Regions from separate parts of the Homo sapiens genome. Here regions 2, 3, 4, 5 and 6 are each linked to region 1. The links are contacts of gene promoters, found by promoter capture Hi-C in blood cells and fetal thymus (Javierre and others, 2016). All regions are on one chromosome and are shown on one strand. Each heading gives the region's core, a stretch centred on a gene start or on the middle of the fragment in contact. The rest is flanking DNA. Distances are from core to core; before and after follow the strand shown.

Region 1 (3,582 bases), core at 1-2,500:
AGTCCAGGTCCACACTGGGATCCGAGCTCCGAGTACGTGAAGGGGCGGGCCTTCGGGCTCGGAACAAGGAGGAGCCAAAAGCTTTGGACCCGAAGGGGAACAGACGGGCTCTGGAAAGGAGGCGGGGTCTGGAGCTCGGCGTGAGGAATGAGGCGGGGTCTCCCTTCGGGTTCCTTCGGGCACAATCGGGAGCTTGAGTTCTCCGGAAGCGGGGCCACAAACTTCGGCTCACTTCGGCAATAGTCGAGAACGGAGAGCTGAGGCCACTGTGGGCGGAGCCACATGTTTCGGCTTTCTTCGGAGGTAGTCGAGTCCTTAGGGTCACTGTTCCGATGTGGGCGGGGCCACAGACTCGGCCGGATGTGGGTGGGGCCACAAGCTTCGGTTTACTTCGTAGATAGTTGGGTACAAGTGACGCTAGGATGATAGGCGGAGTCAACAGGTTCGCCAGACACCCATGAGTATTTACAAGGGGGCGGGGCGAAAGCGACTTGCCCTCAAAGGGGCGGAACCCCGAGGGCCGGCGTGCGCCTACGGGACCGGGCCAGGATGACGATCCTCAAGTTCCCAAGTAGAGGAGAGGAAGCGGCAGAGGGAGGTGCGCTCAGTGGGGCGGAGCCAAGGTGGCCCCCGCGGGAGGAGGGCGGGGCTTCGGTCCTGCGAGGGGCGGGACCTGACTTCCCGCGGCGCTGATGGGGCGGGATGACGAAGTTGACGAGGGTGTCGGCATGAGGGGGTGGAGCAAGGAGCGCGTGGCGCGGTGCGCAGTGGGTGGCTCCACCTCGACTGCGAATTACTGTTTATGAGGTGACTCGCTGGTTCTATCGGTGGACAGTGGGACATTCTGAAGGGAGGCAAGGAGGCGGACTGAGCGCTCCCAATTGGGGTGAGCCCGCCCGAGCGGAGAGTGGACGGCGGGTGTCCAGGGGGCGGGGCTTTCGGCTGTGGGGTTCGGTCGTAGGGCGGGAACTCCCCAACTGGGGTGCGCTGGCGCTCGGAGGGGGCGGGGCCACAGGCCGCGAGGCTGCCGGGAGCCGATGACGCCCGAACGCCGAACCTATTGCGTCCGGGAGGAGGCGGGGCTACGGATTCGGCCGAGCCGAGAACACCCGAACGTCAAATTGCTGGCGTTCGAGAAGGGGGCGGGGCTGCGGATTCGGTGGAGCCGAGGACGCCCGAACGCCGAACTTCCTGTGCTCGGGAGGGGGCAGGGTTTTGTACTGTGGGAGTCTGAGAGCGAGGAGGTCCGAAAGCCGAATCACAGTCGTTCGGAAAGAGGAGGAGCGAAGGCTCGAGCGTCCGGAAGAGGGTGTGGCCTCGGCGGTGCCTTAGCCTCCAGAGCTTCTGACCGCTGACGGGAACACCCGAAGGGGGACGCCCACTTTGCAAGAGGGTGGTGCCAAAATGGACCTTTGTAAGGGGGCGTGTCGCCGCGCTTGCGGAGGTTTGTTTTTCACGCTCCAAGGCGCAATGGTAGGTACGGCAGTGCGGGCACAGAGCGGGTGCCGACCGCAGGGTCACAAGGGTAGAGCGGGACCCTGGGGGCTTGGCGAGGGGAGAGGGTCGGGGGCTTGTCTCCGGCGTCTCGTCTCCGGCGGCCGCGAGGCCTGGTGGGATCGCCCGGGGGCGGGGCCTGGCGCTCGGGCCCAGCAGGTGGTGAACGGCGGCTGAGCGAGGCCCCGCCCCCTGAGGCCTAGGGGCGGGGCTTCGCCGAGACCCCGGAGGCTTTGGGTGCGCTGCAGCGGTCCGCGGCGCGCAGCTGTTTCGGTAACTGCTTTGCCTCCCGGCTCCCGCAGGAGGATGCTGGTGGTGGAGGTGGCGAACGGCCGCTCCCTGGTGTGGGGAGCCGAGGCGGTGCAGGCCCTCCGGGAGCGCCTGGGTGTGGGGGGCCGCACGGTAGGCGCCCTGCCCCGCGGGCCCCGCCAGAACTCGCGCCTGGGCCTCCCGCTGCTGCTGATGCCCGAAGAGGCGCGGCTCTTGGCCGAGATCGGCGCCGTGACTCTGGTCAGCGCCCCGCGTCCAGACTCTCGGCACCACAGCCTGGTAAGGGGGCGGGGCTCGAACTCGGGTTCGGTGGGAGCGGGACCTGGGAGTCAAGTTTCCTGGCTTCTGAAGGGACCATAAGCTTGGAGGTTCCAGCGAAGTGTGCTTCTCAGGCCCTGACATCCTTCAAGCGCCAGCAAGAGGAGAGCTTCCAGGAGCAGAGCGCCTTGGCAGCTGAGGCCCGGGAGACCCGTCGTCAGGAGCTCCTGGAGAAGATTACGGAGGGCCAGGCTGCTAAGAAGCAGAAACTAGAACAGGCTTCAGGGGCCAGCTCAAGCCAGGAGGCCGGCTCGAGCCAGGCTGCCAAAGAGGATGAGACCAGTGATGGCCAGGCTTCGGGAGAGCAGGAGGAAGCTGGTGAGCATGGGAGGTGGAGTCCAGGGACCACGGGAAGGAGAGGAGAGATCTTTTAGGAATTTTAGCTGGGAATCCAGTGCCTGGGTCTCCCTGAGGGTGAGAAGACTTTACCCCTTGAATTTACCAAACTCTTCTCTGTACTCCCCACCAGGCCCCTCGTCTTCCCAAGCAGGACCCTCAAATGGGGTAGCCCCCTTGCCCAGATCTGCTCTCCTTGTCCAGCTGGCCACTGCCAGGCCTCGACCGGTCAAGGCCAGGCCCCTGGACTGGCGTGTCCAGTCTAAAGACTGGCCCCACGCCGGCCGCCCTGCCCACGAGCTGCGCTACAGTATCTACAGAGACCTGTGGGAGCGAGGCTTCTTCCTCAGTGCGGCTGGCAAGTTCGGAGGTGACTTCCTGGTCTATCCTGGTGAGTATGGGTTGGGGCCTCTGGTTGCTGTGCCTTTCCATACGATCCCAATGTATTCTGCGTTTTTCTTTTTTTTTTTTTTTGTCTTAATAGAGGTGGGGTCTCTTGTTGCTTAGGCTGGTCCCTATTCCTGGGCTCAAGCAATCCTTCCACCTCGGCCCCCCAAAGTGCTGGAATTATAGGCCCAGCTGCATTTTTCTTTTTTGTCTCACTTTCTCTTAGCCTCTGAAATTCATAGACAGACAGGAAACATTTGGGAGCTCCCGAACTCATTGGGCAAGCAGTTTAACGACTTTTATTAAATGATTACTGTGATCCAGAAGATTCACTTAGAAGTAGTTAGACATCAGGCTGGGCGCAATGGCTCACGCCTGTAATCCCAACACTTTGGGAGGCCAAGACAGGTGGATCACCTGAGGTCAGGAGTTTGATACCAGTCTGGCCAACATGGTGAAACCCCATCTCTACTAAAAATACTAAAACTAACTGGGCGTGGTGGTGGGTGCCTGTATTTCCAGCTACTCGGGAGGCTGAAGCAGGAGAATCATGTGAACCCAGGGGGCAGAGGTTGTAGTGAGCCAAGATCGTGCCATTGCACTCCAGCCTGGGGGACAAGAGCGAGACTTTGTCTCAAAAAAAAAAAAAAAGCCTAGAAGTGGAATAGTTGTGTCCAAGAGCATCTGTTTTAGAGTATCTATAGTGATGGCTGAAATGATCTCAGATCTCCTCCCAGTGGTCGTTCCCGTGGCGTCCAGCCGTCTGCCATTGGTCAC
Region 2 (3,582 bases), core at 803-3,302, about 18 Mb before region 1:
CACAGATGGGGTCAGGGGCTGCTCTGGGGGAGGGAGAAATTGTCCCTGTAGAGACAAAAGCAAAAAGGAACCCAGGTGACTTTATCTGGCAGATTCCTCCGGGTCTGTCTCGGATCTATAAGACATTTCGGTCAGGACCACCCCTCTCATCAGCCCCGAGGGCCCGGCAAGCCGCTGAGTCCCTACGGGACAGCACGGGGCCTCCGGAGAGCTGTGGCTCCCTGGCCTCACCTGCACCCCGCCAGCGTCGGGCTGCTGCTGCTGGCGGCGCCTCTGCTCTTCCAGAAGCTTCTTCACGGTTTGCGTTGGGCAGTGGCTGCGCTCACCCCTGCTCACTGTGCGGGAGAGGAGAGGGGGAAGTCATCAAGGGTCCTTAAGTCACCTAAATGCCGCGGGGGTGGCGCGCGGGGAGTGGGTTTGGGCACCCTCCTCGCCCTCCCGCGCGGAAAAACTGGCACATAGATGCCGCCTGACTCCTCCAAAGCCATTAGAAGATTTGGGGTGGGGCATCCGCCTCCGCCGTTTCCTTCCTTTTGCTCCGCACTTTCCCTCTGACCCAACTTTCCACCACCGTCGCGGAAAGTGAGGAAGGGGGAGGAGGGCACCCCTCTGCAGCAACCACCCCACTTCCGTAAAAAAATTCCACCCCCAGATATCCAAGTTTTGAAGTCAGCGGGTTGGTGGGGGGCCGGCGCCAGGCGTCACTCCCTAGACTCACATCCAGGTTCCCAACATTTTTTTCCCTAGAACCTGACCCGGAAATCAGGAGTCCCCAGCGCCCCTCCTCGAGAAGTCAAAGGCCTCACCCCGGGCCGGGAGCGGTGGCTCACGCCTGTAATCCCAACACTTTGAGAGGCCAAGGGGGGCGGATCACCTGAGGTCAGGTGGCCAACATGGTGAAACCCCGTCTCTACTAAAAATATAAAAATTAGCCGGGCGTGGTGGCAGGCGGCTGTATATCCCAGGTGAGGCAGGGGAAACACTTGAACCCGGGAGGCGGAGGTTGAGGTTGCAGTAAGCGGAGATCGCGCTACTGCACTCCAGCCTGGGCGACAGAGAGAGACTCCATTAAAAAAAAAAAAAAAAAAAAAAAAAGGCCCATCCATACAGTCTCTTTTTCAGGCCCCAGGAATCTGGACCCTCAGTTCCTTCCTCTCTAGGACCTGGGAGCCCCAGTTCCCAAACTCCTTCCCACGACTCAGAAAGACAGAACCCTCACCCTTCCGAGCCTGGGTTCCGGCGGAGGAAGGGTTAAGTGGGGATTGCGCGGGGCGGGGGCGGGAGGAGGTGGCTCGGAAACAGCCCCGACGCGGCGCGCTGACGCCACGGCGCTCACGCAAGGGAATCTTCCATCCTCCCCTTCCCCCCAAGTCCTGTGCCCCAGGTGTCCTGCTCCGAGGCGGGGCGCGCGGCCGATCGTGGCGCTCGTGGAATCCCCGCGCAAGGGGAATTCCTGCTCAGCCCCGCACGGGTGGCCATCCGGAAATCCCAGGGCGGGGCAGAGGCAGGGTCACCGCCAGCGTAGACCCTGAGGCCAGGCTCCGGACCCTTCCCCACCGAGACCCACGCCGATTTTAAGCAACCACGCCCCCCCCCCCCCCCCCCGCACTCAGCCTAGTCCCTGCTTCTAGGGGTAGGAGTCTCGGTTGCCAGCAACCCCTAGCACCTCCAAGGACCCAGAGATCCAGCCTCCCAAGCCTCCCAGCCCTTGCACCCTCGGGGCCCTGCGATCCTGGATCCCCAGGCCCCTGCACCCCCAGGACCCAGAAGTCTGGGATCCCAGCCGCCCCTCTGTCACGATCCACGATCCCCTCCTCCTCCAAACACCTAGGGCCCTCACTCTCGGGATAAAGGACTGACGCTTCAGCTCCGTCCCTCAGGGCCTCGGGAGTCTTTCGATCCTCAGTCCCTCACTCTCTTAGGGGGCCGAACGCGTCCTGCCCGCGCCCATTACCTCGGGGATTCCGTGGCGTGGATTGCGGGCCCCCAGGGCCGCGGCCTCGGCGCTGCGCCAGCCTCGCTGTTTCCCCCGCGGAGCCGCCGCCGGGTCCCCGATCTTGGGTCCGGTACCCGCGAGTTTTTAAACTAGGGGTTATGGCACCGCCCAGTCCTGGGCAGGGCCCGCCCACAGGCCTGGGAGTCCCCGGGTCGCGCTCCGGCGAACGCAGTCCCTGAATGGGCGCGGCGGACTTGGGAGGCGGACTACTCAGTCCCCCCGGGAAGGAGGGAGCTGGGGTCCAGATCTTTGCTCTGAAGGAGCCTAGGGCACCGGGCTCCAAGAGGAGGGAGAAACCGGGGGGCCTGGATTTCTTTTCTTTTCTTTTTCTTTTTTTTCTTTTCTTTTTTTTTTTTTTTTTTTTTTGTTGTTGTTTTTGAGAAGGAGTCTCTGTCGCCCAGGCTGGAGTGCAATGGTGCGATCTCTGCAAACTCCGCCTCCTGAATTAAAGCGATTCTCCTGCCTCAGCCTCCCGAGTAGCTGACACTACAGGTGCTGGACACCATGCCTGGCTAATTTTTGTATTTTTAGGAGAGATGGGGTTTCACCGTGTTGGCCAGGCTGGTCTCGAACTCCTGGCCTCAGGTGACCCGCCTGCCTTGGCCTCCCAAAGTGCTGGGATTACAGGCTTGAGCCATGGTGCCTGGCTGGGGCCTGGATTTCTGGGTCTGTGTCTAAGGGGGTGCTGGAGGCTTTGTCTCCTGGGTCCTGCCCATGGGGGTAGGGGTAGGAGTGGGGATGGAGATGGGGTGGGGGCAGGGAGAATATTACTGGGTCCAGAGGGAGGCAGGACTGGGGGTCTAGACTCCCAGAGGAAGGGTCTGTGGGTAAGGGTATAGGGTGTGGCTCAATTTCTCCCTCTCCCCTACATCACCCTTTTTAGAGGTCTGGTTTCATTTACTCATTCATCATTTAAAATAATTTATTGCAGCAGAGGAGGCATTTTGCTGTGTATTGTGAACTAAGCAGGCAGGAATTCCCAGCCCTGGAGCTGGCATTCCAGTGGGAGGCCACTCTCAGTTTCACTTGGTGACCTTTCACAGCACTGACCATGTTGGCCCTATTTCTCCCCTGCTTGCTTGCTTTTCTATTTTATTTTATTATTACATTTTTATTGTTAGAGAGAGGGTCTCATTCTGTCGCCCAGGCTGGAGTGCAGTGGCAAAGTGGTGAGATCTCGGCTCACTGCAACCTCCACTTGCCTCAGTCTCCCAAGTAGCTGGGATTACAGGAGCCTGACACCATGCCCGGGTAATTTTTGTATTTTTGTAGAGACGGGGTTTCACCATATTGGCTTGAACTCCTGATCTCAGGTGATCCCCCCACCTTGGCCTCCCAAAGTGCTGGGATTACAGGCATGAGCCACTGCGGTGGCCTCTCCCCTGCTTTCAAGATGCCATGCTCTCAGGGGTCCCCTCCCTCTTTCTCCATTTCCCTGGCAAAGTTCCTCCTCTTCCCCCATTCAGTGTGTGTTGTGATAGGGGCAGAATCCTGTCTGCACTCACTTCCTTGGTGATCTCACCCAGTCTTGTGGCTTTAAGTACCATCCATAAGCCATCAACCCCCAAATTTACATCTCCAGACCA
Region 3 (3,582 bases), core at 787-3,286, about 18 Mb before region 1:
CATTGACAGGCCCTGGGCAGGAGGCAATAGTATTCCCTTTGAGGTTTTGCAGCTCCTTGAGTCCACTGGAAAGTAAAGAAAGTCCCCCTAGGCTGATTGACATAGTTGTCTTGGAGATTAAGGGTCATTTGACAGGAAAAAGATAGATGTTTAAATTCCAGAGTACAAGCCAGCATGGTGGCTCATCCCTATTATCCCAGCTACTTGGGAGGATGAGGCCGGAGTTCAAGACCAATCTGGGCCACATAGCAAGACCCTGTCTCTAAAAACAAAACAAAAAATAAATATTTAAAATTCCAGAGTGAAGCCTGGGCAACACAGCGAGACTCTGTCTCTACAAAAAACAATAAAAGAAGAATTAGCCGGGTGTGGTGGGATGTTCACGTAATCCTAACCACTGGACATGTTGAGGCGAGAGGATTGCTTGATCCCAGGAGATCAAGGCTGTAGTTTCACCAATATGGTGAAACCCCGCCTCTACTAAAAATACAAAAATTAGCCCAGTGTGCTGGCACATACCTGTAATTCCAGCTACTGGGGAGGCTGAGGTAGGGAGAATCACTTGAACCTAGAGGCAGAAGTTTCACCATGTGGATCAGGCTGGTGTCGATCTCCCGACCTCAGGTGGTCCGCCCGCCTCGGCCTCCAAAAGTGCTGGAATTACAGGTGTGAGCCACCGTTCTAGGACATGTATTTTTGATAGATACATACACCTGCCAGGCAGGATTCACAGTGGTTTGTGATTCTCCCCTGACTCCAAGACTCCAAGCCTAATCCCCGCCCCTGACCAGCTTCTCCTCTCTGAAGGGGAATGGACCCCCCAGCTGGTTGCCGGCCCAAGTGTGCAGAGCCGCGGTTGCGCGCTGGGTGGAGGGGTCCCCCAAGCTCCGGTGCTGGTGGGGCCCGAGGATGCTGTGTCCTTGCGGGCCTCCCTAGCGCTACGAGGACACCTCCAGGCGGCCCGCGGGGACAACAACGGCATTGCGGCCTACCACCTAAAGCTCCTGGGAGGACAACGGGGTTGCAGTCTAGTCGACTGTTCAGGGTGTCCCGGACTCCGGGCTTTAACAGTCGGTAAGGACCCAAACACCGCTGTCCACTGCCCCGACTCCCACCCGCAGAGGGCGCGACCAACCCAGCTCCTAGAGCCACACGCTGCCTCTGGGGGCTTGGCGCCCACACTCTCTCTGCTTGTCTTCCCCTGGCCCGAGAAGCCTGTCCAACCGGCCGAGAGCCATTTCCCTACGGGGTCTCGTCCCTCTGCACGTGCCCAGGGCTGGGACCCCAGACACAGACCTGCCCCGGACGAGGGAACGCACGGAGCTTCCCAAGATGGTTTGAATCAGTAACTGACGGCAAAAGCACGCTTGTGCCCGGCGTCTCTCCCAGTGCCCCGTGCCCTTGGGACCCAAAGTCCGAACCGGTAGCCGGGCGCGGTGGCTCACGCCTGGAATCCCAACACTTTGGGAGGCTGAGAATCGTTTGAGCCCAGGAGTTCGAGCCATTCTGGGCAACATAGGGAGACCCATCTCTGCAAATAATAATAATAATAAATAAATAAATAAATAAATAAATAAATAAATAAATAGCGGGCGCGGTTGCGCGCGTCTGTGGTTCCAGCTACTAGGGGAGTTGAGGTGGGAGGATCGCTTGGGCCCAGGAGTTCGAGGCTGCAGTGAGCCAAGATCGCGCCACTGCACTCCAGCCTGGGCGACAGCGAGACCCCGTCACACACAAAAAAACCCCTAGCTTCCTCTTCTCCCAGAATGCAGGAGTTAGGTGAGGACCCTCTGTTCCCTCCAACCCAAGACCTAGGAGTCCGAACACATAACGCCCTCCAGGCGGTGCCAGGATCCCCAGAACTGCTGTCCCCTCAAGAACACACGTCCCCTACGTGGGAGGCCGCGACCAGCGACTCCGCCCACTTCTCCCAGCCGGCTGTTACGTAACTGCAACGACAGCCAGTCAGACGCGGCAGCGCCGGATGGCGGGAGGCGGGAGTTGGAGGCCAAGGGAAGCGCTGGGCGGAAGTGGCTGTGGCTTTGCCCTTTGGCCTTTGCTGGCTGTGTGGCGGCTCCGCGGTTCGCAGGTCGTTCGCTGAGCGTCTCTGCTTAGCCGCGGTCATGAGCCGGCACAGCCGGCTGCAGAGGCAGGTTCTGAGCCTGTACCGCGATCTGCTGCGCGCCGGGCGTGGGAAGCCGGGCGCCGAGGCGCGAGTGCGGGCAGAGTTCCGGCAGCATGCGGGCCTGCCGCGGTCCGACGTGCTGCGCATCGAGTACCTGTACCGCCGCGGGCGGCGCCAGCTGCAGCTGCTACGCTCGGGCCACGCCACCGCCATGGGCGCCTTCGTACGCCCGCGGGCCCCGACCGGGGAGCCTGGCGGCGTGGGTTGCCAGCCTGACGACGGCGACAGTCCAAGGAACCCCCACGACAGCACGGGGGCACCGGAGACCCGCCCCGACGGACGGTGACAGGCGAAGAGCCGAACTCGCTCGATGGCGTGGTGGAGCCAGGAGGCTCGCCTGACTGCATGGGGGGACTGGGGAACCCGCCTAAGGTGAGAGGTCTTAAGAGACTAGCTTGACGAATTGGGGATGTCAGAGACTCCTCCTTGGCGACGCAGGGGGCCTAGAGAGCCCCGTGATGGACGGCAAGGGAGGCCCGCCTTTTCCGATGCTTGGAGACAGGTCGGTGCTCCTCCCCCATGAGGGCTTGGGGCGGCCTGGGACGCTGGCGGGCTGGACAGTGTCAAGCCAAGAGCTACTTGCCCGAAGGTACGGGGAGCCAGGACGACCCCCGGTGGACAGGGAGAGCCTGAGACGCCCTTCTCTTGACCCCTGAGAACATACCCACTTCTGGCTCCTCAAGGAGTCTCCCCTCTCCTGTATTTAACTCTGAGAAGTGCAGACTTTTTGCTGAGAACGTTTTGGGAAGGTGCCCTGATGAGCGGTGAGAAGCCCGGAATCCCCTTCTGGAAAACTTTCCCCCATTAATTGTGACAAGCCAGGACCATGAGGAAGGGGTAGGGGTCTATCACCCTGGTTGATCAACTGAAGACCCCCAAAGGCCCCTACTTGATGGTTTTGAGGGGCAACATTGACTCATTTGCCCCTTCCCTCTCGGAATGTTGGACAAAGGGAATAAAATTGGGGATATGTCTACTTCCCTGTTGGTGGTCTTAAAGCTTTTATATATTTCAGGATTTTTGAAACACCCCCAGCCCCCCTGCCACCACACACACACGCACACAGACACCTGGAAGGGACCATCTGGGAGGTGATAGGTGTGGGGATCTGACTCCTTCCGGAGCCCTGTAGACTGGCACATTGATTGAAGCGGCATAGTTTTCTCCCCTGGGCAGATCTGTGGAGGGGGCTCATCCTGGCTTAACCCCCAAAGATACCCCAGTTGGCTCCCTAATGGAGGGCAAGTGATTTAACATCTTTGTGTGGAAGAGGAAATGGTGGAGCTGAGAACTGGCTCGGAGCCCCTGAGGCAGTAGTGAGGGTCTCAGACCTGGAAATTTCTCAAACCTGGCTGAAGGGTCCAGCCTCAGCTACAGTGAACGACAAGGCCCTGGGG
Region 4 (3,582 bases), core at 283-2,782, about 15 Mb before region 1:
CATGAGGGAGGCCCAGGCCTGAGCCTTTGCTGACCTAGAGCAGACCCTCCCTGTCTCCCCACACACCATTGGGGTCGATGCGGTAGGTGTCAGGATTGATGAGATCGATGGTGACCCCCAGGTCTGGCTCAGTCAGGAGGTCATGTTTGTGCTGTTTCTCCAAGGAAGTGGCTTTGTACTGGACGAACCTGGGTGGGGAAACACCTATTGTGGTGTTTGGATTCCAGCTTCACCCCTCACAGCCCTGCTTCCCAGAGGCGGAGCTTCTCTGGGGAGGAACTCAGAATGAAGTGTCCCCCATGGCAGAGTCTGAAAGCTGGCTCCCCAGTGGGAAGGGACTTGGACACTGCTTGCTCCATTAACAATTGAGCAGCTACTACTATGTGCTAGGGTAGGTACTGTGCTAGGCCCTGAGCAGACAGCAGCCAACGAGACAAGCAGTCCCTGCCTTCAAGGAACTCATACCTGAGTAGTTTTCCCATTCCTTAGTCTCACCTGTTCTGGTCGAAGGGGTAGGTGATGAACTTGGGGTCGAAGGGGATATCAGGGAGGCTATTGCAGTACTTGACTCGGCAGACCACTCCAGACCTAGGAACATTAGTGGCTCAAAAGTGGGCCCCCGCTGCCCCACCTCTGCTCCCAGCCCCACTGCCCCACCGCTCCTGGGAAAGCACAGTGGGGCTCACCTCTCAGGCAGAGTCCGGTGGGAATTGGGCCTAGTGGAGAAGAAAGAAACAGTGATAGGTGGAGAGGACGGGATTGACAGGAGAATGAAAAAGGCTTCCCCAACCTTTCAAAAGGTAGGAGGGGTGACAAATGCTGGTTTCTTTGGGTGGTGGTGTGGGGAGTGTCCAAATGCTTTAATGGAAGGAGACAAATGTTCAATTTATTTAGGAAGAAATGCCCCCAAAAGCTTTAATGAACAAGGCCAAGTGCTCAATCCCTTTTGCAGGAGATGGCTTCAAGTGCTTTAATAAAGAACCATGTACTCAATCGTCTTCGGAAGAGGGGTCTCCAAACGGTTGACTGGAGGGATCCCTTCTGGAGGGAGTCTCCAAAAGCCTAATCCCTGAACTGCACGGCGGGGAGGAGGGGAACACCTGAATCTCAGAAGGAACCCGCCCCCTTCGTCAAAGGTGAGCGCTTCATGACGTCACGGGCAGACCTGGGGGCTGGTGACGTTGTTCAGCAGAAACCCTCTCCCGATCCCCCGCCTTGCTGCAACAGAAAAGCGTGGCGCCTACCTGTGGCCATCCTCCCGCTGGGCCTGGGTCTGGATGGTGGGCGCCATAGCGACGAGGCGACGGCAGCCCGGACGGGGTCCTAGCGGGACCGAAGGGGGACGCAGAGGGGCGTGCCGACTTCAGGGGACGCCTGATCCGAGGAAGGCCCAGCTTGGCGCCGCTCCCCGCGGAAAGTGGGTTGAGATGAGGTGGGCGGGCGAGAAGAGCTCCAGCGAGACTCAGGTGAACGCGCAGGCAGCACCGGGGACGGACTCGAAGCTCCGGTTCCACCAACTGCCGCCAAGACGCTGAGGACCCAACGGGTCTCCTCAGGCCGCGACGCCTTCGGGGAAATGAAGTCCGGCTCGGAACCACACACGGATTGGCGAGCGTCTGGGTGAAGGGCGGAGCGAGGGAGAGAGGTGCTTCTGTGATTGGTGGAGAGATATCTCAGTCTGGACGCAGATTTGAGAGTGACGTAACGTTGGGGCACCTCCTTCCCCTCCATTGGCTTAATTGCCTAGGGGGCGGGACTAACTAGCAAACGGGGACTAGAAATAGGGATGCTGAAAAGCAACGGGGAGAGACGCAGTCGTAACGCACTTCCGGCGGTCTACGCGAGGAAGATGGCTGCATCCCAGCAGCAAGCTTCAGCGGCTTCCTCAGCTGCTGGTGTATCGGGTCCTAGTTCGGCTGGCGGCCCGGGTCCCCAGCAGCAGCCGCAACCGCCAGCACAACTGGTGGGCCCTGCCCAGAGCGGCCTCCTGCAGCAACAGCAACAGGACTTCGATCCTGTGCAGCGTTATAAGATGCTCATCCCGCAGCTGAAGGAGAGTCTACAGGTGATTGGCCTTAAGCAGCGAGAAGCAAACTGGATTTGGTAGTCTAGAGGGGCAGGCCGAGGGCCAGGTTAGTCGGAGAGAGCGCTAAGCAGAAAGAGGAATAGAACCTGCTGTTTTGGCCTGGCTGGTGCACGCCTGTGTTCCCAGCACTTTGGGAGGCCGAGGCGGGCGGATCACTTGAGGTCAGGAGTTCAAGACCAGCCTGGTGAAACCTCGTCTCTACTAAAAATACAAAAATTAGCCGGGCATGGTGGCGCGCGCCTGTAATTACAGCTACTCGGGAAGCTGAGGCAGGAGAATCGCTTGAACCCAGGAGGCGGAGGTTGCAGTGAGCCGACATCGTGCCATTGCACTCCAGCCTGGGCAACAGAGCGAGACTCCGTCAAAAAAATAAATAAATAAATAAATAAAACTGTTGTTTTCTGCGAGACCTAAGCGAAGCTCGGCAGAGATGGGATCAGCGCTGATGCTGAGGCTGGGACTGGCCGGAGCTTGAGTGAGGGGTTGTTTAAAGGAGAAACTGGGCTCTGGTCGTTAAAGCCTGAGGAGAGTACTGGCTTATACGGAGATTCTGCCCTTGATTGATAGGTGAGGGAGGACCCTTAGGTTATTGGCGAGAAGCTCAGGTGAGAGCGGGCCTCTGGGAGGATGGAGTGGTGACAGCTATAGGAATGGAAACGAATATTACTTTGGAAAGTCAGGAGGGAAGGTGCCAGTTGAAAAGAAAACCTGAGACTGAGTGATCTCAAGAAAGAGTGTAGATCTGCCAGAGGTATTCCCTTTTGTTTTTCCATTTCCCACGTGTTTTGTTTTTGTTTTGACTAGACCTTGATGAAGGTTGCGGCCCAAAACTTGATTCAGAACACTAACATCGACAATGGACAGTGAGTGCAGCCCCCTTTACCAGGATATTCTATTGCCTTCCCAGTCTTTGAAATTCATCTTTCCTTCTCCTGCTCCCCGCCCACCTCACCTTCTATATTTACTTTTTTTTTTTTTTTTTTTTGAGACAGGGTCTCCCTCTGTCACCCAGGCTGGACTACAGTGGCACGATCTTGGCTCATTGCAGCCTTGAACACCTGAGTTAGGAGATCCTCTTGCCTCAGCCTCCCAAGTAGCCAGGACTACAGACATGGCTACAGACTACAGATGCCTGGCTAATTTGTAAGATTTTTTTATAGAGACGGAGTCTTGCTATGTTTCCCAGGCTGGTCTCAAACTCCTGGCCTCTAGCCATCCCCTCAGCCTCACGAATCACTTCTCCTATTTTATTTTATTTTTGTTGTTGTTTTGTAGAGACAGGGTCTTGCCACGTTGTCCAGGCTGGTCTCAAACTCCTGGGTTCAAACAGTCCTTCCACCTTGGCCTCCCAAAGTGCTGGGATGACAGGCATGAACCATCATGCCCAGCCTTTTCCTTTTCTTTCTTTCTTTCTTTCTTTTCTTTTTTTTTTTTTTTTTTTTTTTTTTTTTTTTGAGACAGAGTCTTGCTCTGTCGCCCAGGCTGGAGTGCAGTGG
Region 5 (3,582 bases), core at 760-3,259, about 12 Mb before region 1:
CTCCTGCTTATCTAAATCCTGTGGGCTTACTCTGGGTCAGGGAAGGCCATAATCCCCCCTCCCCAAACTAGCCACTGCCCCTTTAGTAACCCAGACAAAGGCTTGGTCTATTCATGCACACGGCTACCGGCAGCCTGAACCCCTCCCAGCTTCTCATGTGAAGGCTGCTATCCTCCAGGAGCACTTCCTTCACAAGGATTAAGGGCATCAACTCTGGGGACAAGTTGGCTAGGTTTGAATCCTGGCTCCCACACTTCCCAGCTACGTTCTCTGCAAGCCCCTTCATGACATAACTTCTTACCTCCCTCTCTTCCCTAGCTTGGGTCCCCTCTGCTCCTGCCACACTGGCCTCTGATGATGCCAAACTCATTCCCACCTCAGGCCTTGGATGCTCCCTGGGATTTTCTCCCCTGGGGTCTATGCATGGCTGGCAGTGCAGCCTCAGGGCAAAGCCTCCCTTCACCTTGCTGCTCTCCTGACTCTCTCTATTCCATTACTTTTAGTCTTCCTACAACAGCGTCTAAAAATAAGTTCTCTTATTATCTGATTGCCCCCACTAAACTTAAACTTCATGGAACAAACACCTTGTCAGCTCCATCATCCTGTATCCCTCCTAGGCCCAGCAAACAGGATTGTTATTATACGTGCAAACTGCTTAACTTCTCTGAACTTGTTATTTTCTTGGTTACAGTGAAGACAGTAACAGGACTTCCTTGTGAGATTACTGGGAGACTATAAGGCACTAGTTCATATGAAGGGCTGACAGCTGTGCCTGGCATGAAACAAGCCCTCCGTAAACAGTGGCCAAAATCATCATCACTGATGTGGCCAAATTCCCAAAGCCATGCTTTCTTCCTCTTATGTTGCTCATTGATATTGTGGGAAGAGAGAGTAGCAGAATGGGACATAAGCTGCCTGATATGGCACTGTCCGTATCAGGGCACCAGGGAGGCCCAGCGGGAGCCAGGCCCTTTCCTCCCAGGAAGTGTGACACCCTCCCATTCAACCGTACCTGGCCGGCGCCGCTTGCGCGCCAGGTGCGGCAGCAGGTCGTGGCGGGCCAGCACGCGCAGGAGTTGCCCCAGCAGCCGCAGGTTGCTCTCGTCGCACTGCCCGCGGCGCTCCAGCTCCAGCAGGAGCTCTAGGCCGCTGCGGGCCCGGGCTAAGCCTCCGGCGGCGCCAGGAGCCTCATCCAGCAGAAAGGCCAGGAGCTCCAGCTCGCACTCGGTCAGTTGCCCGCCCACCACCTCGAACATACGGTGAAGCGACAGCATCCCGTAGTAGTCCAGGCACTCATCCTCCTCCCAGCACGGGGCCGGGGTCGACCCGGATAGCGCCATTCCCGGGGGAGGGAGGCGGAACAAGCTCAGAACCCGGCCTAGAACCCACACAGCGGGGAGGGGGCAGTGGTCAGCGACGCGGAGGCCCGAACCCCACACCGCCAGCGCGTCTCCCCCGCCCAATCGCGCCGGGCAGGGCCGCTCCCGCACCCCCAACCGCCTCGGCCTCCCCCTCCCCCGGGAGGGAATGGTCCCGCCCGAGGTCCCCTAAGAACAGGTCGGGACGCCGGAGCCCGCTCGGCTTCTGCCCCCACCACCGTGCTACGTTCGGAGCTCGCCTCCGGACCTGACCAAACGATGCGGCCCAAACAAGCCTCGGGGCCCACCCCGGGGCTCCCTGCTGACTGCCCCTGACTCTGGGTAGGACTGCCCAGACGAGCCCCTTTTCTCCGTCCAGCGGTACCGTCTGATGAGTCCCCCGGCTCTACGCAAGTGGTACCTCCCGAAAGTGACCCTCTGCCCCCTACACAGAGGAGCGACCCAGGCAGCCCCTTTGCTCCACACAGGTGGTACCGTCCGAACCCGACCCCCTCGCCCTGCAAGGGCGGCCCCGCCCGCTCCCCAGAGCCCAGGTGGTCCTGTCTACCCGCCACCAGTCACCATTAGGCCTCTCTGGATCCTCACCAGATTCTGGCGTCCGATGACTCCTGGGCGACGGCCGCAGCCACTTGTTTTGGATCTTTCTGGCACCTTCTCTATTATTACGCCTGCGTCACCTCGCCCCTCCTCCTTCCCCCAACTCGCGCAGGTGCGACCGCCACGCCCCTTCGGCGCATGCGCAGAACGAGGCCTCCAAGCCCCGCCCTTCCTGGGCCGCTTGACCTGCCCCCAACCGAAGCATCTTGGTTCGCGAGTGCTGCGCTTGCGCAGAGCGAGAGCACGCCGCCTCTTGGGCTGTATCTGGTACCCGGTTCCAGGTCCCTACTTCCTGCCCGTGACTCAAGCCACCGGGGCCATGTAGCGCCACGTCACGAGTAGTTGTAACTACTCATCTCATAAACTACAGCCCCCTCCTGATCACGAGCTAGACGCCCACATCACCACTGCCCCTAGTTGCCCGTGGCAAAGTAACACAATCACTACTTTCCCGTCTCCCAGTAAACTCCCAGGCCTTATATGATCTGGTCCTGGGCACTCCTCCATTAGATTGTCCCTCACTTCTAGTGACAACCAGGGATCTACATCTCAACTGTGCTCTCTCGTGATCCCAAATGGAAATCCCGCCCCCCCACCACCACCCCCGCAGTCTATAAGTTCCTTCCCCTGATCAAAACCAGAATTCCCTCATCTCACGTTCAGGACGGATACCTCCTTCCAAGCGGCAACAGAACCCTCCATTCCGACTGTGTACATCTCGATGGCGTCCATCACGACCCCCATCACAGTCAGATGTCTCCACCCAGAGCCAAAACGGCCCCTCCGTAACCCCTTCCAATCTCTGCCCTCCAGGGTCGCCCAGATACCCGCTCCCTAACTTGCAACAACTAGAGAGGGTCTGTCAGGGAGTCTAGGCTGTGGTGTATGCGTGTCCCCTTACCGCGGGGCCTTGGGTGTGACGGTCGCCACGCCCCCCACTTAGGTGACTCAAGGTCAGGACCTGCATGTACTTGAGACAAGTCCCCTCCCTGGACCTCTTCCCACCCCCGCAATTAACTCCTCTTGGGAGTCGGGAGATCTGGGTCCTGCCTAGCACTGGCCCAGTACTGGCTCTGCCTGAGCTGTAGCAGTGAATTCAAAAGAATCGGCTGCGCGCGGTAGCTCACGTCTGTAATCCCAGCACTTTGAGAAGCCGAGGTGGGCGGATCACACGAGGCCAGGAGTTCGAGACCAGCCTGGCCAACATGATGAAACCCTGTCTGTTCTTAGCCGGATGTGGTGGCACGCGCCTGAAATCCCAACTACTTGGGAGGCTGAGACAAGAGAATCTCTTGAACCAGGGAGCAGTAAGCAGAGATAGTGCCACTGCACTCCAGCCTGGGCCACAGGGCGAGACTTTGTCTCAAGAAACAAACAAACGCCAGGTGCGGTGGCTCACGCCTGCATTCCCAGCACTTTGGGAGGCCGAGGCGGGCGGATCACCTGAGGTCGGGAGTTCGAGACCAGTCTGACCAACATGGAGAAACCCCATCTCTACTAAAAATACAAAATTAGCCGGGCGTGCTGACGCATGCCTGTAATCCCAGCTACTCGGGAGGCTGACGCAGGAGAATCGCTTGAACCCTGGAGGCGGAGGTTGCCGTGA
Region 6 (3,582 bases), core at 488-2,987, about 11 Mb before region 1:
CACTCTGTCGCCCAGGTTGGAGCGCAGTAGCGCGATCTCGGCTCACTGCAACCTCTGCCTCCTGGGTTCAAGCGATTATCCTGCCCCAGCCTCCCAAGTAGCTGGGACTACAGGCGCGTGCCACCATGCCCGGCTTTTTTTTTTTTTTTTTTTTTTTTTTTGAGACGGAGTCTTGCTCTGTCGCCCAGGCTGGAGTGCAGTGGCACGATCTCGGCTCACTGCAAGCTCCGCCTCCTGGGTTCACGCCATTCTCCTGCCTCAGCCTTCCGAGTAGCTGGGACTACAGGCGCCTGCCACCACGCCCGACTATTTTTTGTATTTTTAGTAGAGATGGGGTTTCACCGTGTTAGCCAGGATGATCTCGATCTCCTGACCTCGTGATCCACCCGCCTCGGCCTCCCAAAGTGCTGGGATTACAGGCGTGAGCCACCGCGCCCAGCCTACTTATTTATATTTTTTAAGAGACAGGGTCTCGCTCAGTTGCCCAGGCTGGAGTGCAGTAGGGTGATCTGTAGGAAAGGGGCTTCCAGGCCTTAACTCATGTACTCCCCCATAACCAGGTTGGGAGGTTAGCTCACTGTAACCTCAAACTCCTGTGCTCAAGGTACCCTACTAGCCCCTAGGAGAGCAGCTGGGACTACAGGTATGCGCCACCATGCCAGGCTTAATTTTTACTTTTTTTTTTTTTTTTTTTTTTTGTAGAGACGGGGGTCTCACTATATTGCCCAGGCTGGTCTTGAACTCCTGGTCTCAAGCGATCCTCCTGCCTTAGCCTCCCAAAGTATTGGTATCACTGCAACTAGCCCAAAGAATTAATATAGCTATGTTCCATGTGATATTTGGGACATACTTTTCTAAAAGGTTGTATCTTTTGGATATAATTGTTTATCTGAAATTCAAATTTAACTAGACATTGTATATTTTATACGGCAACCACACACCTGGGACAATCAAGACATTCCCTGAAGTTACCAGGAGACAATGCCCATCAGCCTACACTTTTCCAAGCCCACGTCACACAAGGCCCCTTCCAGAGTATTCCAGACGTCAGGTAGGGCCATCCCTTGGTTCACAAGTCCCACTCCTACCACGCCTATGGCAGCCAAACTGAAAGGCAAACACAGTGCTGGAGACCCCACAATGCCCTGGGCCTATAGCAGTCAATTCCCAAGATGCCCCGCGTGAACACAATAGGCACCCGTTCCAATGCTCGAGCAAAGAGACCAGGGCAAAACCTTCCACTACGGGACAATAACGGCCAGTTCCCACAATTCGTTGTGGCAGTTCTTCCCAGGATGCCTTAGGCCTATAGCGACCACCTTCCCAGACTCCCCGTGTGGAAGCGCTCCAAGCCTCCAGGACGGTCAGCGGCAGGTGTGGGATAAAAGGAACCGGTCTCGACAAGGATCTGGGACACTCTTTCCCAGGATGCACCAGGCCTACGACTAGCGGACCGACTCCCACAGCGCTTCAAGGCGGAGCGCTCGGTTCTCCCAGGATGCCCCAGGGCGGCACAAACGCGTAGGGGGAGAAAAAGAAGCCCTCGGGTCACCACGGCCCCAGACCGCCGGCTCCCCGGTGACGGGAGTCGTCGCTCCCATCATGCAGCGGGGCCGTAGCGCCCGCTTCCCGGCATGCCTCGCGCACCCCTGCCCGGGACACTCACCGGCGCCGGCGGCCCCCGCTCCGGCTCTGCGGCGGCGGCTGCACGCCCAGCCTCTGCGCCTGCGTCGCAAGTAGGGTAGGACAGCGCGCAGGGGGCGTGAAGAGCCTAGGGCGCTTGCGCGGCGAGACGGACTAGTCCTGTAGCGCTGTGGGAAGAGGGGCTATGCGCGTCGGGCCGTCGACGAGACCCGCGCGGGGGGCGCCGTGCTTTGCCCCTCGCTGCCTGGGTTTACTTGGTACAGCCCGCGGCCCAAAGGAACAAGAAGCTGAAGGGTTCGCGCGTGCGTGTGCGGGGCAGGAACGCGCCTTACAAAACTGGGATGCGCTGGGGGTGGAGGGCGCTAGTTCGGACTGGATCCTGGGCCCGAGGCCTGCTTATTTGCATAATCCTAGCGCGGGACAATGAAAGGCCTCCCGCACTGGAAGGAGTGATTTGCATATTCCCCGGAGGGGCCTTACTCCAGAGCGCAGTGATTAGCATATGGCGGGGGCAACCTGAGCAAAGCGCATGCGCGCAGGGACTGCAGACTGACGCGAAGTGGGTAGCCTTGTCTTCGTAGGGGATCAGTTTGCATCCTGAGAGAGGGCACGAGGGCCAGGACCCCTCCCAACCAGGATAAAGGTTTATTGATCTCCTAGGTGTCAGGCCCCATGCTGGCGGATTCTGTGGTTTCTGCAGTGAACCATACTCCTGTACTCACGGCACCCCAGTCGAAGGAGATACGCACCTAATTAGACAACTACTACCCAGAAGGTCAGACCTGGAGTGAGGAACACAGGGGGCTGTGGGAGCCTAAGAGGCGCTTGCCCCGGCCTCTGGTTCTAGAAAGACTTCCAGGAGGTGGTGATCCTTAAGCCAAGTACGAATAGGAGCCAACTAGAATGGGAATGGGTCTGGCAGAATGAACTGCAAGCGCCAAGGCCCAGAGGCCAAAAAAAAAAAAAAAAAAATAGAAGCGCATGTTTTGATTGAGGAAGCAAGAGCAGCTTAGTATGCCTAGAACCTAACTGGAGACGGGAAATGGTTCTATAGACGATGTTAGAGTTCAACTATGGCTACATTCCAGTCTTCCTGTAAGTGACTTTGTCACATTCTGGCTTAAAACTCCCCCAAAGGGATCCCATTAGGAAAAAAAAAAAATCCAAAAATCTTTATCATGGCCTCAGGGCTATACACCTGGTCTGGCCGTGCTTATCTTTCTGACCCCACCTACTTCCTCCTCCCTCCATTTCTGTCCAGCTCCACCTTACCCCAAACTCTTTACCAGCTCGGGCCTCTGCTCTTGCCGTTCCCTCCGCCTGAAAATGCTTTTCCCTCTGACCTTTGAATACCTACTCTTGTGCTCACCATTCATATCTTGGTACAGATGTCAATCTGAGAGGCTTTTCCTGATCTCTCCATAATAGCACTTACACATTTGACTGGAGTTATGGATAAATCGGGATTGGCCATGAGTTGGTGGTGGTTGTAACTGGCATGAAGAGTACATGGGGCTGGGCGCGGTGGCTCACGCCCGTAATCCCAGCACTTTGGGAGGCCGAGGCTGGTGTATCACCTGAGGTCAGGAGCTTGAGACCAGCCTGGGCAACATGGTGAAACCCTGCCTCTATTAAAACTACAAAAATTAGCCAGGGGTTATGGGGGGTGCCTGTAATCCTTGCTACTTGGGAGGCTGAGGCACGAAGATCACTTGAACCCTGGAGGCAGAGGTTGCATTGAGTCGAGATTGAGCCACTGCACTCCAGCCTGGGCCACCCAGCGAGACTCTGGGTCTCGCCTGTAATCCCAGCACTTTGGGAGGCCGAGGCGGGCGGATCACGTCAGAAGATCGAGACCATCCTGGCCATCCTAGACCATTTCTACTAAAAATACAAAAAAAAAAAAAAAAAAATTAGCCGGGCGTGGTGGCAGGCGCC

What was found. Contacts are between HindIII fragments. The CHiCAGO score rates a contact against its expected background, and 5 or more counts as called.
Region 2: a contact is called between the fragment with the promoter of NFKBID here and a fragment that was not itself captured in region 1, in 1 of 17 cell types (fetal thymus). The highest score is 6.6, in fetal thymus.
Region 3: a contact is called between the fragment with the promoter of SDHAF1 here and a fragment that was not itself captured in region 1, in 1 of 17 cell types (fetal thymus). The highest score is 5.6, in fetal thymus.
Region 4: a contact is called between the fragment with the promoter of PAF1 here and a fragment that was not itself captured in region 1, in 3 of 17 cell types (fetal thymus, total B cells and naive CD4 T cells). The highest score is 18.2, in fetal thymus.
Region 5: the fragment with the promoter of DEDD2 here is called in contact with a fragment that was not itself captured in region 1 in 1 of 17 cell types (activated CD4 T cells); the score reaches 9.2 in activated CD4 T cells.
Region 6: the fragment with the promoter of ZNF428 here is called in contact with a fragment that was not itself captured in region 1 in 1 of 17 cell types (activated CD4 T cells); the score reaches 18.3 in activated CD4 T cells.

What each region holds. Positions count from the first base shown.
Region 1 is chr19:54,189,565-54,193,146 of GRCh38, forward strand. MBOAT7 (membrane bound acylglycerophosphatidylinositol O-acyltransferase MBOAT7) reads right to left here and starts at 16. Exons shown (of 8, transcript NM_024298.5): 1 at 1-16. TSEN34 (tRNA splicing endonuclease subunit 34) reads left to right here and starts at 1,744. Exons shown (of 4, transcript NM_001077446.4): 1 at 1,744-2,043; 2 at 2,157-2,400; 3 at 2,552-2,809. The coding sequence starts at 1,801. RefSeq lists enhancers at 1-29, 30-711, 2,680-3,196 and a silencer at 1,634-1,835. The HindIII fragment of the contact is 1,746 bases long and covers 378-2,123 here.
Region 2 is chr19:35,898,488-35,902,069 of GRCh38, forward strand. NFKBID (NFKB inhibitor delta) reads right to left here and starts at 2,053. Exons shown (of 12, transcript NM_139239.5): 1 at 1,955-2,053; 2 at 232-335; 3 at 1-45. The coding sequence starts at 2,015. RefSeq lists enhancers at 1-340, 341-912, 925-1,481, 1,327-1,576, 1,482-2,037 and a silencer at 1,937-2,086. The HindIII fragment of the contact is 4,662 bases long and covers 287-3,582 here.
Region 3 is chr19:35,993,152-35,996,733 of GRCh38, forward strand. SDHAF1 (succinate dehydrogenase complex assembly factor 1) reads left to right here and starts at 2,037. Exons shown (of 1, transcript NM_001042631.3): 1 at 2,037-3,161. The coding sequence starts at 2,124. The coding sequence ends at 2,471. RefSeq lists enhancers at 1,000-1,499, 1,834-1,883, 2,144-2,223 and silencers at 2,284-2,343, 2,374-2,493. The HindIII fragment of the contact is 4,511 bases long and covers 1-3,182 here.
Region 4 is chr19:39,389,574-39,393,155 of GRCh38, forward strand. PAF1 (PAF1 component of Paf1/RNA polymerase II complex) reads right to left here and starts at 1,533. Exons shown (of 14, transcript NM_019088.4): 1 at 1,245-1,533; 2 at 687-716; 3 at 496-588; 4 at 67-188. The coding sequence starts at 1,291. MED29 (mediator complex subunit 29) reads left to right here and starts at 1,805. Exons shown (of 4, transcript NM_017592.4): 1 at 1,805-2,065; 2 at 2,891-2,949. The coding sequence starts at 1,850. It also overlaps a transcript of SAMD4B not described here. RefSeq lists a silencer at 191-322 and an enhancer at 1,860-2,149. The HindIII fragment of the contact is 958 bases long and covers 912-1,869 here.
Region 5 is chr19:42,215,668-42,219,249 of GRCh38, forward strand. It overlaps DEDD2 (death effector domain containing 2), which reads right to left and starts at 2,010. Exons shown (of 5, transcript NM_133328.4): 1 at 1,965-2,010; 2 at 1,013-1,378. The coding sequence starts at 1,340. RefSeq lists silencers at 1,141-1,346, 1,428-1,487, 1,498-1,597 and enhancers at 2,369-3,245, 3,246-3,582. The HindIII fragment of the contact is 12,709 bases long and covers 1-3,582 here.
Region 6 is chr19:43,617,892-43,621,473 of GRCh38, forward strand. ZNF428 (zinc finger protein 428) reads right to left here and starts at 1,738. Exons shown (of 3, transcript NM_182498.4): 1 at 1,667-1,738. It overlaps LOC105372411 (a long non-coding RNA gene), which reads left to right and starts at 1,170. Exons shown (of 4, transcript XR_001753942.2): 1 at 1,170-1,741. RefSeq lists an enhancer at 1,097-1,747 and a silencer at 1,552-1,791. The HindIII fragment of the contact is 4,307 bases long and covers 1-3,582 here.